Linked DNA regions of Homo sapiens: region 1 is linked to region 2. Evidence: promoter capture Hi-C in 16 types of primary human blood cells and fetal thymus (Javierre and others, 2016). All regions are on one chromosome and are shown on one strand. Each heading gives the region's core, a stretch centred on a gene start or on the middle of the fragment in contact. The rest is flanking DNA. Distances are from core to core; before and after follow the strand shown.

Region 1 (3,008 bases), core at 392-2,891, 180 kb after region 2:
GCATTGACTAGTTTTCTTTCAGCTCATAATAAAAGCCATCTTCTGTTTGAAGCCCCATGAGCTTCTGGAAGGGCACTGTGGATGAGAGCATGGGAATGCAGTAGAGAGAGATACGACTATATTTAGTCATTCTTTGAGACCAGCATTTCTGGTAATAGGTGCAAGGACCTGGTGTGAGGAGAGAGCATTGCAAATTCTCAGAAAGGGTTAACATATGTAATGTGTTGACAGGTTGTGAATTTTGTTTTAAAGGTTCATCTCAAAGGAGGAGTCAGAAATACCTTCCGTGAAAAAGCTTGCATGGTTCATTTTTAAAGAAACTGCAAACTCATACCAGTTCATTTAAAGTGTAATCAAGACAAAGTCTTGAAGCTCAGCATGCTCAGATACATCAGACCCTGAGCACCTTTTACATTAAAATAATAATTACGAATTTTGTCAATGATTTTGAAAACCATAGGGAAAGCCAGGTGTAATAGTGAGAATATAAAACATGCTCCCTTGGAGACAGTGTTGTTTGTTTGAATTAAAATCATTCCCACCAAACAGACACACAAAGTAAGGACCTTGACCATTTAAACAGCTAAAAAAAAATTGCAAACCAAAGCAGATTTAGTAGTTGGGAAAGTGAATGAAGTCTTATTAAAGTTGAGTAACTTCTGAAAAAGCTTAATTTTAAAAGCTTCATTTAGATCACGAATGCTGCTGTTTATTGCTGTTGGCAGTCAGCACTTCGTGTTTTGGTAAAATTACATCTTGTCCTCATGAAGCGCGTTTGGTAGGCGCTGTTACGTTATGGCCACTGTGGGATGGGGAGCTCTACCTTTAATGGTGCTTGTCTGGGAAGATGGCCAGTAATTTTGGACTAAGTAACTTTGGTTGTTAAAATGAAGGGCTTCAGATATTTTTCTCTCCCCTTCTGTCCTAATACGGGTCTCCTTCATTGTTAGATCACATTCTGCTTTTTTGCTGATTGATGATGACATCAGTTTGTTTACCCTAGAGGCTGGGTCATTTGCTTACTTGTAAGTCAGTGGAACTGGCTTTTGCATCTTTGCTACTGACTAGCTGAGTGCCCTCAAGCAGGGTTTTTTAACCTCTCCTTGCCTCGTTTTTCTAATCTGTAAAACGGAGATAATATCAGAATTATTATCAGGATTAAAAATCTGTGATGTTGATAGTATTGGATTTCAACCCTTAGAATAACATAAATATACATGATTCGTGTTGATATAAATAATAGGATGAACAAATACATGGGGTGGGGTGAGTAAAAGCTCTTCCTTAAAATAGACTTCTAACTAATAAATGTAGAATAATGAGGGAAATGAAAGATCACCATTGAGCAAACATCATAGTAATGATTGTTGCAGGTCAGAACCATTGATGTACACTAATGTTAGGTGAAACTATGATGAAAAACAGGATATGTGAATAGTCTCAAAGTATCTCCCTGTAGAATACTTATTTTTTTACAAAGAGAAAACAGTTATTTTACAGAGGAGAAAACTAGTGGACACCACCGCAACCAAGTGATCATGGTTAATACCACCAGTAATAAAGACATAAAAACATGTACCACCAAATATGATGCATTGAGAAGGTACAACATCACCTCTGTGTTATTCTTACCAAAAGTGCACATGACCCCAATCTAGGAAATACTAGGGACATTTTGAAAATAACTGGCTTGGACTTTTAAAAAGTATGATAGATTAAAGGAGATATAATAGTCAAATGCAACATGGGATCCCGGTTTGGATCTTGGACCAGAAAAAAAAGCTATTAGTGGGAAAACTGAAAACAAGGTCTGTAGATTGAGGTAGTTGTATTTTGTCCATATAAATTTCTTCATTTGAATAACTACTTTTATGTAAGATGTTAACCTTAGGGGAAGTTGCGCAAAGGGTATACAAAAATGCCATATGATTTTTGCAACATCTCTGTAAGTCCAAAATTATTTTAAAGTAAAATGTTTTGAAATACCCATCATACATGTGAGGTACTTTTGGTTTGAAGGAAGATGGTTATAAACGTCCCTGGTTCTGCCAGGGACTTAGAGGGGCTTTGAAGCATGTGAGAAGGTGCTCTTTTGTTCTGTCACGGTGCTATAGACTTGGCAGTCTTATCCCCTGAAGGCTGGATATCACTGTTCCTCCCTAGAAGACCTTAGCCTCTTCAGCTGACCTCAGGCCAGCGCCTCTCTGGGGAGAAGGGGGGCTGTAACTAGTCATTGGCCTGGTAGAGCTTTGCTTGGCATGTGGAAGTGGAACCATCAGAAGCCACTTTCTTGTTGCCTTCTTCTTTTGAAAAGGTCACGTCTGGGTGGAGCCGATGTTACACACTGTTCTCATTGATTCACAAAAAATTATTCAGGGGATTCTCACTGAATCATGTGTGATTTTAGAAAAGCCACTTTGTAGACTAGAACAGTATATTAGTTCAGCTCAGACTTAGATGCTGTAAAAAAAAAAAAAAAAAAAAAAAGGACCCAATACCATTGTCTAAATAAGGTACAAGTTTGTTATTCCCTTGTAGATGGACCAGAGGTGACCAACTAGAGCTGACTGGGTGGCTCTTTGATCACTGGCACAAGCTTCCATCCTGGGTCAACCCTGGCTATCCAGTTGTCACCTTTTTCCAAGTAGTGGGAAAAGAGGAAGAAAGAGGAATGTACTCTTGTTTTTAATGGATTTCACTTTTATTCAGGATCCGTTTGCAGGAACTTGGCCGCTTGGTCACGCCTCTAAGTGCAAGTGAGGCTAGGCAACAAAATGCCCTACTAAGAGCTGGAGGCAGGCCGGAATTGTTGAAAAGAAGGGGAATTAATACCAGGAGAGAGAGAGGAGTCTTCCACTGTCTTGGTACAATCCAGAGAATTCTCTTTTTTTTTTTTTTTTTTTTTTGATACCCAGGCTAGAGTGCAGTGGCGCATGATCTTGGCTCACTGCAACCTCCACCTCCTGGGTTCAAGTGATTCTCCTGCCTCAGCCTCCTAAGTTCCTGGG
Region 2 (3,054 bases), core at 349-2,848:
GGATACTCTTTCCATAGGAAGCGGCAGTAAATATTTTGAACAAATGAACATTCTTGCATAGTTTATTACAGCCGGTATCATTTGTCCCATTTTGCAGTGAGAAAACTAAGGCTAAAAGAGGTAATTTGATCAAGGTCATAGGTTAGAATTCAGCTCTGAATGGCTTCAAATTTGGTCCAGGCAAGCTCTTTTCAGATTTTTTTTTTTTTAACACTATGTAGGCACCTGGAATTGTAATTTACTCAGGGGCACAACCACTTCTCTTCAACTCCAGAAGCTTCTCCGTGCATCTCTAGAGCTAAACCACCCATGAAATCTTCCTGGAAGGATGTGAAGCTAGAAAGGGGTTGGGCTCGGGGAACTGTCCCTTTGAGAGCTGACTTTTCCATTTAGTAATTTTTTTTAACTCTTGAAGTATTTATCTGCTTGATGGGTTTGTAGATCCTTTGGACGGAGATCACCTATCATCTATCACCTTTTGTTTTGTCTGTGTGTGTGTGAGAGAGAGAGTCTGAGTTCCTCAAAGCTTTTTTCTAGGTAATTTTTGATACTTCAGATTACAATGGATATCTATATTCACAAAAAATATTAGTGGGATAGAAAGAGTATCTTTAGGTAGGAAGAGGGGCGCAGAAGTTACAGCCAACACAGAGAATCCTTCAATGTTTGTAAATATCTGTTAATTTCCCTTGCCTCTGGAGCAGTTTTCCCGGTTTCAGAGCCTCTGCTCCTAGGTGCACGTGCAGTGTGGTAGCAATGGATAGGTTTTGACTTGCCAGGTTTATGCGTGCCATTCAGGGCAGGGGATTAGGGTTAGGCCAGTGAGTGACCTAGGACACTCAATTTAAGGAAGCACTCGCACAAACCTGAGAGTTCGCGCGCCTCACCCCAGCCCAGCCGTGTGTCTGTTAAGCATTTATCATAATCCTGCTGCATGAAAATGCCCGGCGAGCTTACCTGTGAGGATCACCTGCCACTCCCCTCCTCCGCCAGACAACGCGGAGGGCCTCCCTGAGCTGTGACTTTGCTCCGCCGGTGATAATTTCCAGGTTACTGTGTAGGAGCGTCTGGCGCAGCATCGTGTGCGGAAGACCGAGAGAGGGAGTGTGCGTGTGAGCCTGTCAGGCCGGGCGGGTCCATATCCGGGTGGACCGGGTGGGTGGGGCTGCCCCTCCCTCCAGGTCCCGAGGTGGATAAGGGGTGGGGAGTGACGTGCAGAGATTCCCTTTCGCCCCTTCGGATCCAAGAGAGGGTGGCAGAAGGAATGCGTGGGTGACTTGGCGTGGATTTAGGGCGTGCCCACCCTGCAGATCGGCCTCCTAGAGTGTCCCGAGGGCCTGAGAGGCCGCAGGGACACGAAGGAAGAGAAGGAGGAACCCGAAGAGGGCTCGCCTAGCCGGCCACCCGCTCCGAACTTGCCCGGGAAACTAGTGCGGAGGGAGGGGCCGGGCCCTGGCCGCGGCGGGAGGAGGGGCGGCCGCAGCTGCATCCAGCCCCGTTGGCTTCCTTCCCAGCTCTCCTTCGCCTCCTCCTCCTCTTCCTCCTGTATGAGTCAGGCATTTCCCGGGGATTTGGAGCAGGCACGCGCGGCCCGGGCGTCCGGAGCTGTAGCAGCAGCAGCAGCCGCCGTGCCGGGGCCGCCACCGCGGCGGGCACCCGCGTCCCGGGCGCCCACGGACCATGGAGAGGGCAGTCCAGGGCACAGACGGCGGCGGGGGTAGCAACAGCAGCAGCCGCAGCAGCAGCCGTGCTACCTCGGCGGGCTCCTCGCCCTCCTGCTCTCTGGCGGGCCGGGGGGTCTCCAGCCGGTCGGCGGCGGCCGGGCTCGGCGGCGGGGGAAGCCGCAGCAGCCCGGGCTCTGTGGCCGCTAGCCCGTCCGGGGGAGGCGGCCGCAGGAGGGAGCCGGCGCTCGAGGGCGTGCTCAGCAAATACACCAACCTCCTCCAGGGCTGGCAGAACAGGTAACGCGCCAGCCGCCCGCGCCACCGCGCGCCGCTGTGTGTGTGTGTGTGTGTGTGCGTGCGTGTGTGTATGTGTGTCTGTGTATGTGTGTGCGCGCGCGATTGTGCCTTCAGCGAACCCAGTGATGCCTCCCAACGGTGCCCTTCCTGCGTCCCTGCTCCCCTCCAGGTGGGGTTCTCAGGATGGGGCGCGCCGTGGCTCCACCCCGGGACCGCACCGCAGTGGCGGGGAGGGAGGCGAGAGCCCTGGTTTTCTTCTATGCTGGCACCTGCAGAGACTGGAGTGGTGGCAGGAGGATCGTGCTGGTCCCCGTGCTCTGCTTGTCCGCGGTTTCCCGCACGCCTGAAGAATGACTGGGAAAGGGAGGCAGAAGGGGCGTGCTTTGTGCCGGGGTGAAAAAGCGTTAGCACGTCCGCTCCGATTACAGTAATTCTCTAAGTAACAGTTCATTTTAAAGTTTGGTGTTTCAGAACACCACCACCATCAACAAAAAACCTGCCACTTGTCATCCTGGGCGACTGTGCATACTCCTGCCCCAGTTTGTGCCTTGCAGCCTCCGATGTTTGTAATGGAAGTTTTGTTTAAAAACAGAAAGAGGCCGGGCGCGGTGGCTCACCTCTGTAATCCCAGTACTTTGGGAGGCCGAGGCGGGCAGATCACGAAGTCAGGAGTTCGAGACCAGCCTCGCCAACATGGTGAAAACCCGTCTCTACTAAAAACAAAAAAAATTAGCCGGGCGTGGCGGCGCGCCTGTAATTCCAGCTACTCCGGAGGCTGAGGCAGGAGAATCGCTTGAACCCCGGAGGCAGAGGTTGCAGTGAGCCGAGATCGCGCCATTGCAATCTAGCCGGGGCGACAGTGCGAGACTCCGACTCAAAAAAAATAAATAAATAAAATAAAATAAAATAAAATAATAAAAAGAAAGAAAAAATACCCTCCCCCTTTTAATATTAGTAGCAATTTACATTATTATCATTATTTCCTCTTCAGGTCCCATTTGAAGTTTCCTGCTCACTTCCCCCTTGCAGTTGAGAAGCCTAGTTATGGACACGTGGAAGGATGGGGCTGTCGAGGAAAGGGGCTCAGGAGGCA

What was found. Contacts are between HindIII fragments. The CHiCAGO score rates a contact against its expected background, and 5 or more counts as called.
Region 1: a contact is called between a fragment that was not itself captured here and the fragment with the promoter of OSBPL10 in region 2, in 2 of 17 cell types (naive B cells and total B cells). The highest score is 6.8, in naive B cells.

The regions. Positions count from the first base shown.
Region 1 is chr3:31,802,448-31,805,455 of GRCh38, reverse strand. All of the region lies in intron 4 of OSBPL10 (oxysterol binding protein like 10), which reads left to right. Among named protein-coding and RNA genes, the nearest start is that of OSBPL10-AS1, 100 kb to the right of the region's middle. The HindIII fragment of the contact is 1,914 bases long and covers 685-2,598 here.
Region 2 is chr3:31,979,806-31,982,859 of GRCh38, reverse strand. It overlaps OSBPL10 (oxysterol binding protein like 10), which reads left to right and starts at 1,598. Exons shown (of 12, transcript NM_017784.5): 1 at 1,598-1,961. The coding sequence starts at 1,681. ZNF860 (zinc finger protein 860) reads right to left here and starts at 1,110. Exons shown (of 2, transcript NM_001137674.3): 1 at 958-1,110. RefSeq lists a silencer at 1,839-1,908. The HindIII fragment of the contact is 3,310 bases long and covers 529-3,054 here.